Regions from separate parts of the Homo sapiens genome. Here region 2 is linked to region 1. The links are contacts of gene promoters, found by promoter capture Hi-C in human tissues and cell types (Jung and others, 2019). All regions are on one chromosome and are shown on one strand. Each heading gives the region's core, a stretch centred on a gene start or on the middle of the fragment in contact. The rest is flanking DNA. Distances are from core to core; before and after follow the strand shown.

The links. Contacts are between HindIII fragments. The study calls those that stand out against the background at their distance.
Region 2: a fragment that was not itself captured here is called in contact with the fragment with the promoter of LRRC1 in region 1 in 1 of the 25 tissues and cell types used here (dorsolateral prefrontal cortex).

The regions. Positions count from the first base shown.
Region 1 is chr6:53,792,483-53,798,599 of GRCh38, forward strand. LRRC1 (leucine rich repeat containing 1) reads left to right here and starts at 2,523. Exons shown (of 14, transcript NM_018214.5): 1 at 2,523-2,933. The coding sequence starts at 2,775. LOC124901333 (a long non-coding RNA gene) reads right to left here and starts at 1,193. Exons shown (of 5, transcript XR_007059619.1): 1 at 1,059-1,193; 2 at 801-867. RefSeq lists silencers at 1,214-1,343, 2,389-2,628 and an enhancer at 2,595-3,307. The HindIII fragment of the contact is 7,170 bases long and covers 1-4,315 here.
Region 2 is chr6:55,405,844-55,411,960 of GRCh38, forward strand. No RefSeq gene overlaps it. Among named protein-coding and RNA genes, the nearest start is that of GFRAL, 81 kb to the left of the region's middle. The HindIII fragment of the contact is 5,201 bases long and covers 1,205-6,117 here.

The DNA.
Region 1 (6,117 bases), core at 1,273-3,772:
ATCCCATGAATCATCCTCATTTGAGATATGATAAAACTGAGGCTTATACAAGTTAAGTAAACTGTCAATTTCTACGAAGCTAGTGGCATAACAAGAGTTCAAACACAGATCTCTTTAGCTCAAAGGCTGTGAAAACATGGTTCACAGTACAAATGAATAAAAGAATTACATTATTCTAAGAATAAAGTGATTTAGGTGGTCTTTTTAAACTTTGTTTAAATTGAGTCAAACTCATTTGTATGTGGCGGAAGAAACTAGATGTTTTATCAGGCGGGAAACCCTAAAATTCTTCAGGTGAGTAAAAAGTTAATTGCTTCCCTATTCTGTAGTTGACAAGGTGTTGTTTCATTTTTTCTCTCTTACTACGCTGTTTCAAATTCTTGGCAGATTATTGGAAACAAGGAAAGTCAAGAATTCTCCCAGTGACTACCCATAGAATTAAATCAACAAAAACTGTTGATCATTGACTGTGCATATGGCACTGTGGCAGCTTCCCAGATCTACAAAGCAAGTGAGACAGTATCTGTTGTTTAAGAGGTCATAATCTCTTTCGGATTAAGGTGATACAAAAATAATAACACAGAGAAGCTGAAGCATCATGGAGAGGCACACAAGGAATGCTTATTGAGGTCTGAATTTTTAAAAGACTGGACACGTCTTTAAAATACATTTGGTGTTCGTTAAAATAATCTAGTGTGATAACCTCTGGAAATCACATTATTTTAAATGGAGGGAACTAGCCTTCTTTAATTTTTTTTTTAAAAAGCAGTTGGAAAACTTGAAGACAGGGACTTACTTACCTTTCCACATGTCTCTGTCAGGAACCAGTTTTCTAGGAAGGGTGGCAGAAATGAGCTTCATATGTTTCTGGAATGCAAGAATGTAGAAAGGGGGGTGGAGGTTCAAAGTCCAGGTAGCCCTCTGTGAGAACGCAGGAATCAAATCAGGACAAACAAAAGAAGGGTGAAGTGGGTAGGGCAACGGAGTTTCGGGATTGACTGGAATGAGAGTTAAGGTGATAATGCTGGGGTGGAAATGAAAGTCAGACCCCTCCTTACGGACTGGGAAGAAAGGAGCCCTCCTAGTAAAGTTGAAAAGACCAAGTGTCCTCTTCTCCATTTCACCGGGGAAACGCTCCTGTGCCTAGTCGTAAGGTACAGGAGAGTCTATGGAGCCCATGGAGAGTCTAATGCAAAAACTAGTTTCCGACCAAACTTTGCCTTGGCCACTGAGCATGCTCAGCTTTGTCTTCTATAGAAAAGTGAACTCCGTGGCTCCAGATTTTAGCTATAGCAGCTGGAGGGCGGGAGTGAGTGTGGGAGAGCCAGCGTGGCAGCGGCCGCAGGTGGAAACCTGGAGTTTGAGTATGCTTGAAAGGGAAAGTGTGGAACGAAGGGGCGGCCGGGTGGGGAATCAGAGAAGCCCCCAAGGAAATGATTCATCATTGTGATTGACCTTGACTTTAGCAACCCTTCATTAAAGGAGAAAATTTGGTTATTCGGAGATGGGGACTGTGTTGCAAACAGTTACAGGCAAAGAGGGGCAGTTCAGGATTCCGGCCGTGGTCCGCAGGAATGAGTCGGGGCGAGGGAATGGTTGTTATAACCCAATAGTGAGCCTCCCCGGTCATCCGGGCTGGACGGGACTGGGGTTGTAGCAGAAAAGCAGGAGCTGTATGGAGGATGCTCACCTGGCAGCCTCGATCTGCCCCTCTTCCCTCGCTCCTCCCTCCGCACCAGCCACAGCTAGTTGTCAGGGGCCAACATCTGGGCCGGGCTGGAACTGGCTCAGAAACTCGCGTTTGCCTGCTTATTTCTGCAGCTGGGCTCCTTGCCAGGTGCAACCACATCTATGAGAATCTCGCAGACTCTCAGACTCCTATGCCTTTGCTGGTACAGGGAGGAGGATTTACTATCACTCACTGCATAAACCATGATCACCAGAGATGTGCTCCCAAGTTACAAAGCCTGCAGGCGGTGCCCGAGGACCAGAGGGCCGGGCGCGGCCAGCTCACACTTCTGGGGCAGCCGTGAGCAGCGGGCACACGGGCAGCCACGAAAGCAGCAGCGAGGGTGGTGCAAACACCTCAAAACTACACCGAATCCAGTAGCGCCTGGCGCCCCCGGCGCGCAAGGTACGCTTTGGGGCGGTCCTGTGTGACCCCGGAAGAGAAAGTTGTTTTGGGGAAGGGGAGCAAGGAGAGGAGTGCGAGTTAAATAAAACTAAATATCAAAGTTGTTCTGCTCTGCTCAGGCCGCCTCTACTCCGCCTCATCTTTGTCCCAAGTCCTTTCACAGTCTGCCTTCCTCAAACGGCCCGATGCGCCCCCGTCTTTGCCGGAGTAAGCAGACCGCCAGCAGCCGGCCCGCAGGTCAGTCGACCCTCTCTGGATGCAGGTCGCCGGGAAAACCCGGAGCGGAGCATCCCTCGGGCCGGGAAACGCCCTCGGCGCGCACCCACTGGCGCGCATGCTCAGTCCGCGCGGCGGCTGCGAGTAGGAAGCTCCGCGCGGCGGCGGGGGCGGCGACGGCGACTGGCGGGTGGGAGTGGAGGCACCGGCTGGCGGGCGGGGGTACAGGGACGGGGCAGGGGCTCCCGCTCCAGGTTCCTTGAAGCACTTCCGACCGCGAAGCCCGGCGCGAGAAGCGAGCTAACCCAAGAGCCAACAACGAGCGCGGAGAGGGCAGCGGACTGAGCGGAGCCGCCGGCCAGAGCGGGCTCGGAGCCCGGGTCTCCGCCGCTCGGGACCCGGCTAGGCGGCGGCGGGGGCGGCGATGTTCCACTGCATCCCCCTGTGGCGGTGCAACCGTCATGTGGAGAGCATCGACAAGCGCCACTGCTCGCTGGTCTACGTCCCCGAGGAGATCTACCGCTATGCCCGGAGCCTGGAGGAGCTGCTGCTGGACGCCAACCAGCTCCGCGAGCTGCCCGAGGTAAGGGTCCGGCCTCACCTGAGCGCTCTGCCCGCTCGTCTGCTGTCCCTTCCGCTCCCATCCTCTCTCGTCCCCTCTTCCATCTCCGGGTCCGGCGTGAAGGAACCTTCCCTCTTTTATGCATTCACCTGCTTCTTTCTCCCCCTGTCTCTTTACTTCCATCCTTTCCCAGTAAAAGTTCCTTTTCATTTTATTCAAAGTGACCGGATATTTTGCGCGTAGTCACTGGGGCTCGTGCTATTGGAGAAGCGTTCTGGACTGTTAAGTAACTTAGATCCATGCTAGGTACTGACACCTGGCACTTGTGCCCGGTCAGGTGAGAAGCCGGGTGATTCGGGCTGTTTCCATCTGGAAGCTACAGAGCACTGCATCCTCCCCCCCTCCACTCCCCGGGGTCGTTCCCCCACCAAGGGCCGGGCGCGCCTCTCCTTTAGTCAAGGCATGTCCCGGAGGACCTTGTGACCTGGGCAGCGCTCAAGCGGGCCGCACTATCTCGGCATCTTGGGAGGAATGAGGAATGTGCTCCGTGCTTTATCGCGGGTGGGCTTGGCCGGCTGGCCTGCGGTGGCTGCGGGGGTGGACGCGAGATGGGCGCAGGGGAGAGCTGGGCCTGGAGCGCTAGGGGCAGGTGCCCAGATGCCGGCCGCCCGGGCCTTGCCTACGTGGACCTGTTGCGTGGTGGGAGCTGCGGTGAACGTCAGCGGAGGCTCTGCCCGCGGGCCAGCCTTGCAGCCGCCTTTCCCGGAGCGGGCACAGTCGTCCTGCTGACTTTCTCTCCTTGCAGTGATGCGTTATCTCTTCAGAGTTGTTTATGTAAATTGATCACTCCATTGCCGCCGAACTTGTCAAGCGACATGTGCTGATGGTGCTTTGACCGAGAGTAGGGGTACAGCGAACTTCTTTCAAGCTTGCCTCGGGAACTTAGCTAGAGTAACCCCTCGGGGAAGGTGTCTCAAACCCAGGTGTGTGCAGGAAGTCGGTGTGCAATAATCCAAAGGTGTGCAGGAAGTAGGGAGACTGCTGGCAGTCGGGGATTGGACCTGTTTTAGGCCTGAGCTTTGGAACGCAAACTTCTTGTTGCCCTTTAGTTAACACAAGCCAAATCATTGTCACAGAAACACTAGTCAAGTGTTCTGACTTGTTAGAATGACCTGATACGTTCTCCAGCGCTGATGGAGCATTTAAACAATAAGAACTGTGTGTTTTTCTCAATATTTTAAGTGGTGGTGTTCTTCTTGGATTAACTTTCCTGGGTTCATGTGGAATTGATTGGATGTTTGCTCTGTGTAATCATGGAGATTATCCTCACTAGGACCTTTGCAAAGCCCCCCAGGCTTTATTTAGCTTAGAAGCAGCAAAGCCATCAAGTTCCCTCAGGCGTTTATTATTTCGCAGGCATTTTCAAACACATGATTTTTTTCTGGCCTTTTACGTCCTTGAAGATTTCTTACCAGTCGTCAGCTCCCTCACTGCTTTAAGTTGTGTAATTTTAGGCAGTGATATCACCAGGAATATAGAATATGTAATTTAATAGTTTTCAGGGGCTTCAGGATGACATTATTGAAGATGGAGTGAAAAGTTATTCACTAGAAATGATTCATTGCTCTTTGTGGTATTTGTTTTTTTGTTTTCTTTTGTAGAACTGGAAGATTTCCTTTGACTGGATTGGCTTTTCACTCCCTTCTGCAGGGTTTGTGGGTTTTCCTGTAATGTTGGGGAATTCAGCTTGGCATGGGAAATTACATAATTTCCCATGCCAAGCCGAAATGTCAGGTCTTTCTGTGATCCTAAATGGAAACTTGTCAGAATCTCAAAATATAGTCTGATGGCACTCTGTAAATATGGTAAATAAACAAGCTTTTCAAAGGTTACAGGTGATCTTGCTAATGGATTATTATTGCTCTAACAGCTGTTAAATTAGTATTAAAGTTTTTAGGTTGTGTAAAATCTACTTCTCCCTGACTTATTGTGTGTCTTGGTGCCTGGGTGTGTACATGCCAGACATGAGAACCACCTTGCAAACATAGATATCTGTTCCATCCCTTCCATTCTTTCCTTGGGCTATCTGTTGTCTCACCTCTGAGATCTGTATAACTTATTACCACTGGTCTCTGCTGCTCCTGCTCCAAACCCCTGTCTCCTTACCTGCCACACACAAGCGCATCTGTTTTGTTCACAAGCCTCAAAGGTCCTTATTTTGGTGGCCATACCAGCTGTATGTTCTCCTCTCTATAATTTGTTTGGAAGCACAGCTTAAGGGGAAGCCGGTACCCCTTACCAGGGCAGCAAAGATGCACTCTCCAGGTTTCAGTGTAATAACAGCCACCTTCTTTCCACTGAAAGGCCTGCAACTTCTGGTTTGCGCCAATATCTTCCTTTTACAAATTCAGATTCAGAATTGAGGTGACTTTCTCAGGGCTGTCCAGTGAGTTAGATGCAGTTGCTGGTGGGTCTTGTTCATTCAGATGTCAGCCAAATACAATTGCTTTGGACACCTAGCAGGAATCTTCTATCCTGCTTCTCACACCCATCAAATCTTTATTTAGTCTCTCCTGTTTTACTCATGTCATTATAACTTAGCCTTAGCCAAGCATTTATTGAGACTCCATTATTTACAAGTTATTGGGAATATAGAGATTAAAGGAGGCATGATTCACATCTTTGGGAGGAAGCAGATGATTTTAATCCAGATGTAGTTAGTGTGGGATGGAAAGGACACCACGGTTAAACTACTCCTAAGCTATGGACTTGATGGTTACTTCCCTAATCTTTTAACCTTTTGCATCAGATCCCTCATCTTCAGTTTGGTTGCAGTTGGGTGATAGCCTCACCATCCTTTTTGCATCCACCTACTTCTCCCCCATACCCGCAGTTTGATCCTTTTTGGCTCTGTGCTAACAAAGGCAGTCTCACTGTAACCTTCTTGAGATGTCTGTGTGTTTTTGCTTACCTTTGTTTATTTTTTATTTATTTATTTTTTGAGACGGAGTCTCACTCTTGTTGCCTAGGCTGGAGTGCAGTGGCACGATCTCCACTCACTGCAAGCTCCTCCTTCTGGGTTCACACCATTCTCCTGCCTCAGCCTCTCGAGTAGCTGGGACTACAGGTGCCCACCACCACACCCAGCTAATTTTTTAGTATTTTTAGTAGAGACAGGGTTTCACCATGTTAGCCAGGATGGTCT
Region 2 (6,117 bases), core at 2,555-5,054, 1.6 Mb after region 1:
CTTGAGTGAATAGAATATTTTTTTATTTTTTAGAATAAAAATATTCTAAATTTTTCAAATTGTGAGCTCAACAAATGCAGGAGTCAAATCTGAGTGACTAATGGTCAAACGATGGCACCACCGCTTTAAAGGCAGTGCCGGGTTGGCATGTACCCTGTATGAACCAACAGTGCAATTTTTACATATCCCTGTCTGCTTGCTCTGTTCTTTCACAACGTGTTCCCCCTCAGAACTCTGAGATGAATACCATCTGGGCTGCAATGATTTACTGCACTGGAGTTTCTCAAGTTGTTCCCAAAGTGCCTCTTTGAGGCTTCAATGTCTATTCAGACCACACTGATTGCACCCCAAAACTTAGGGTAGTAGAATTGGTGTTTCCAAAACCTTAGACAAGTCAATTGCAATAAATGTATCTTTAATAAGGGTTTCCATAATACAGTTGTTTATAATCTTGGTTCTACTAAGAAGGAAACATGCCTTTAAAACACAGTGGTTTAAAATTAAATTTTGGCAATATTGTCAGATTCAAATATTTATTTAGGGTGGCAAACAGTCAAACAAAATTACATTAAAATATTTTTGAGATTTCACTTGATTTTTCTAATGTAAGTTACATTGCTGGTTTTGCAGAAGTTACATGACTGGTTTTGCAGAAGGTCATTATATTTTTATAATGGTCAGTATAATTAAATGCTTAGTGAATGCTTAATTCCATGTGTTACATTCTTTTTTTTTTTTTTTGAGACGGAGTCTTGCTCTGTTGCCCAGGCTGGAGTGCAGTGGTGCAATCTTGGCTCACTGCAACCTCCGCCTCCCGGGTTCAAGCGATTCTCCTGCCTCAGCCTCCTGAGTAGCTGGGATTACTTACAGGTGCCCGCCACCACGCCTGGCTAATTTTTGTATTTTTAGTAGAGATGGGGTTTCACCATATTGGCCAGGCTGGTCTCGAACTCCTGACCTCATGATCCACCCACCTCGGCCTCCCAAAGTCCTAGGATTACAAGCTTGAGCCACCACGCCTGGCCACATTCTTTCAATACTTGGAAACAAATGTAATTTTTACTCTTCTGCCTGAAAATTCTAATTTAGTGAGTATTGAAGATACTATGCCTCTTAAGAGTAGCAGAAGGTATTAAAAAGGAAATGTAAACATAAGAAAAGGAGTAGTCATAAATTCAAAGGTGGAACACATATCTACAAACATCACATACTCATTACAATATAATTATTTTAATCAGTGGGATTACAGAAAATAGTAAAAGCAACTAAACTATATAAGATTATTCTACATGCTTTACATACATTATGTAGTTTAAGTCTGACACAAACTCTGTGCCAATTGTCTATTTACAGAATTAAAATAAAAAATAAAAAACCCGATAAAGAAGTTAAGCAATTTCCCAAGCTTCAGAGCAGAAAATTGGTAACTGAGGACAGATATATCATATTTCAGAATCTTCCATCTTAATTTCTAAGCTTTATCACCAGCCATCTCCAACTGTAATTATGTAATTCTTATACTTTAAAAAAGGACCAGGAAAGATCTATTTTAAATATTCTTCTCTAAAGTATTATTGTTATTAACTTGCATGTCTGAATCACATGTATGAGGTGGAATACTTTTACCTGAAATTAAAAATCTTAATAAAAAATACATAATTCCTATAACATAAATTCCAGATGAAAGCATCTATAGGATTGGTGAACTTAATGGCTCAATGAAATCTTCAAGGACTCGAATTTTTCTTTTCTGCCATGCTTACAGTTGCTGAGTGGATTGTACAGTTCAGGATTTATTTGAAGACATAGAAACAAGGGAATTCAAATTACTATAATTGACTTAGTCTAGTCAGAATTGACCCTGAATTACCTAGGAGAAGGGTGGACTCCCAAACAAAATCCATTAGCAAGGATGAACAAGAGAGGGCTTTTGGGTAGGTAGCCAATAGTTTATGCTACAAAAGTCTAGATTAACTTCACCAATTAAATACAAAGTAAAATGGCTTCAAACAAGTAAATCAGATTACTTGGGTTTAAGTTATACTTTTCATTTTGTTATTTGGAACTAAATAGTCCACACCTAAGACAGTGTTTCTCTATGTTGACATCTATGGAAGTGCTCAAGTTCTACCAATTTAGGATTTTCTATTTACTAATGAACAAAATTTGTCTATTATGAAAAAAATGTTGACTGTTTTGTATTAGCAAAATAAATATCACCTTTTAATGAAAACTTTTCCAGATACTTGGAGATCATTCATTCATTGAGAAGGAAAGAGATTAAAGGCTATGCAGCTGACAGTTGAGTTGCAGAATACAGTGAGTAGTGGAGGAATCAACACTGCCTGGGTTTCTCCTTGATATGATTTGGCTGTGTCCCCACCCAAATCTCATCTTGAATTGTAGCTCCTATAATCCTCATGTGTCATGGGAGGCACCTAGTGGGAGGTAATTAAATCATGGGGGTGGGTTTTTTCCATGATAGTGAATAAGTCTCACAAGATTTGATGGTTTTATAAAGAGGAGTTCCCCTGCACACACTCTATTACCTGCTGCCATGTAAGACATGCCTTTGCTCCTCCTTCACCTTCAACCATGATTGTGATGCCTCCCCAGCCACGTGGAATTGTGAGTCCATTAAACCTCTTTTTCTTTATAAATTATCCAGTCTCAGGTATCCTCATAGCAGCAAGAAAATGGACTAATACACTCCTCTTTTCTGAGAATTCCATTCCACAAAAAAGTACTGTTTAGACTACTTATCTATTGGCTAGACACCTTTGCCTTAGTAGCTCAGAAAGGGTAAAGGAATAAATGTTTCCCAGGTAGTAAAAAAGATATGCCAAATCAGTGTACCATTAAGAACAGGAGGGGAGTGTTTAGAAGCCAAAGCTGAGATACAATATATAAAAGGAAACAATGGGAAATAACTTCTAAAAAGTGGAAACTTAAAATAGTTGTTTGTTAGGCAGTCTTCACAGATACCCTATTCTCTTGGATGAGTCAAAATTAGTCTCTGCAAATAAAAAGTGATAGGAATAAAATATTAGAATTTAAAGATATGTAGTAGGAAAGGAAAACAAAATGTGTTACTGCCCCTAACATCTCAATAATAGAGAAAGAACATGGAGATAAGTTTTGAGGAGTTTGACAGAATGAAATGATAGATTGGAAGATAAATATTTATCTAGCATTTTCTTGATTGCATTGAAACTTGATGGAACTGGGGATGGGGTATAGGGTAGTAGTGAATAGAACTGGGAGTCCTTATTGGCAGCAATATTGAAATACAGGTGTATTGTTTATTATATAATGAAGTATTTTTCATATGAAGTAATATATTCTATTGTATTTGTTCATATTTTAACCATGCAACTAGGTAATAAAGGAAACAAAGTGTTGTTCTATATAATTATTCATTTACTTTATCATCTTAGAAATACTGCAAATTTCTTTCATCATAGTATTAATCTTTTTCTGTTTTTCTTCTTCCTTTTCTCTCATCTTGTTTTCCTTTTTTCATAACAGGAGGGGAACAAGCTCAGGAAAGTTAGCAACAGGCAATAAATAGAATGCTCTGAAAATAGCTAACAAGTTTAGCTTAACTTTTTTGTTTTTATTTTTTGATATGGAGTCTCGCTCTGTCCCCCAGTCTGGAGTACAGTGGCTCCATCTCAGCTCACTGCAGCCTCTGCCTCCTGGGTTCTAGCAATTCTCCTGCCTCAGCCTCCTGAGTAGTTGGGATTACAGGTACCCGCCACCCTGTAGGGCTAATTTTTGTATTTTTAGTAGAGATGAGGCTTCACCATGTTGGTCAGGCTGGTCTTGAACTTCTGACCTCAGGTGATCCACCCGTCTAAGCCTCCCAAAGTGCTGGGATTACAGGCGGGAGCCACCGTGCCCAGCTTAGCTCAACTCTTCTAGTCATTTAATACCCAATTATCTTTCACAAATACATTTTGATGGAAATAAAGCTAGTGACGCTTATTGATGTAACAGATACAGGAAATAGGGAAAACCTAGAATTCAGTGTGGTTACACAAGATTTTTTTTTCTTTTTTTTTTTTCTTTTTGTTTTTTTTGAGATGGAGTGTTGCTCTGTCGCTCAGGCTGGAGTGCAGTGGTGTGATATCGGCTCACTGCAAGCTCCATCTCCTGGGTTCATGCCATTCTCCTGCCTCAGCTTCCCAAGTAGCTGGGAATACAGGTGCCCCCACCACGCCTAGCTAATTTTTTTTTGTATTTTTGTAGAGATGGGGTTTCACTGTGTCAGCCAGTATGGTCTCTATCTCCTGACCTCATGATCTGCCCGCCTTGGCCTCCCAAAGTGCTGGGATTACAGGTGTGAGCCACCGAGCCAGGCATTTTTTTTTTTTTTTTTTTTTGGCCTGGAGTAGAGTGTGATTAGCTGAAAAGGAAAATATGTGTTTGATCTTTTTGTTTTTGTTTGTATCCAGCTGTATTTTAAGGTAGACGTAATTGTTCAAATATTTTTAATTGGCAGCTTTTATATGAAAGTAGAGACCCATAATAAAGTCAACCTCAAATGTATGAATGTTATTTAAAATCACGACAATAGAAGAAACCACATAACAAAAAAATGTGAGAAAAGATGGAAAATGACCAAAAAATGACTTGGATGATTACAACACTTAGTGGTCTGGAAGAAGAAGGTGAGAAAGTGAGAAAGCAAGGCTACTATAAATGGGTGGCTAATGAGAAATGAAAGCTAGCAGAAATAAGCCAAAAGTGTAGAGATTTTCAAGATGGAGAGCATGTTCAACAATGTCGGATATTGCCAAGAGACTGAATAAAATAAGGTCTAGAATTTAATTTTGGCTTTGGTAGAAGGAAAGTCACTGAGATCTTAAACAGATCTTATAGATGTGGTGGAGACAGAGGCCCAGTTGCAGTAGATTGAAGAGAGATTGAGGAATGAGGAAATGAAGGCAATGAATACTTACAACACTTGTGAGAAGTTTTGCACTCAAGAGGAGCATTACAATGGGTGTTTATGTGGAGTTTCTGTAAAGTATGAGGTCATCAACAGAATTGAGAGGAAGATGTTAGAGATGTGAGAAGAGAGAGAATGTGAAATGGTTATCTTGGGGAATAGATAAATTTAGTAGGGAGTATAGGAGAAGCAATATTGCTAAGCCTGCCTGCATTCAAATCCTCACTGACTCACTTGTTTTATAATTTGAGTCAACTTACCTAAATTCTCTGAACCTCAGTCTTCTCAACTAACAGCGATATGTCCTGTTAATTTCCCTAACAAAGAAATTAATTGCACTTACCTTACAGGGTTTGAAAGGAATAACTTTGTTAATATGTGTAAAGCCATTAGTAAGAGGTATATGTGAATTTTCTACTAGGTAATGATTACAATTTCTCAAATCACCTGACTTTTTGAGATTCTTGGTCAAAAACACAAAATATGTCAGTATAGTTGAGCGATTTTTCTCCATTAGATACAGAGAGCTAGATTTTACCACAGCTGGAGTTTTCTGAAGTAAGTTCGATGGAGAGAAGAAGCTGCAGCAGCGGAAGTTCCCTATGAACGCGTGGTTGAGCCCTTCTGGTGGATGATGGGAATACAGCAAACGGGTCATGGGCAGTTAAAGATAGTTGAGGTGGCAAGGCATAGTGATCTTACTGGAAATCAAGAGTTGTTGAAAGAAAAATGCTGGATTTGGTACAGGTAGTTATTAGGCATGAGCAGGACAGGAGAGGGCTCTACCGCCACCCACTAAAAATCTCCGCCTCTCTAAAATGATAATTTGGCAGCACCAGGGAGAGGCCATTTCCTGATGGTCCACACCTGTTAACATCAGAATGTTAATTGAACGCAAGCCCTAAGGAGAAGCACACTCCCTGGGCATGTGCATCAAGAGATAAAAATGGTGCAGTATATTCTTTCAGGAGCACACTCCACTGGAAGAGGGAAGAAAGCTTCAGATGGGCCTGCATATAACTTCCTAAACACAAGCGCCTGCTCAGTCCCAAAGGATAAGGAAAGCACTGGGCATGCAGAAAGCCCACCCTATGGAAAGAATCATGGGAAAGGGGTGAGCCTGTAAGTCTCATGATCAAGGTTAAAGGCCCTTTTTTGCTGTC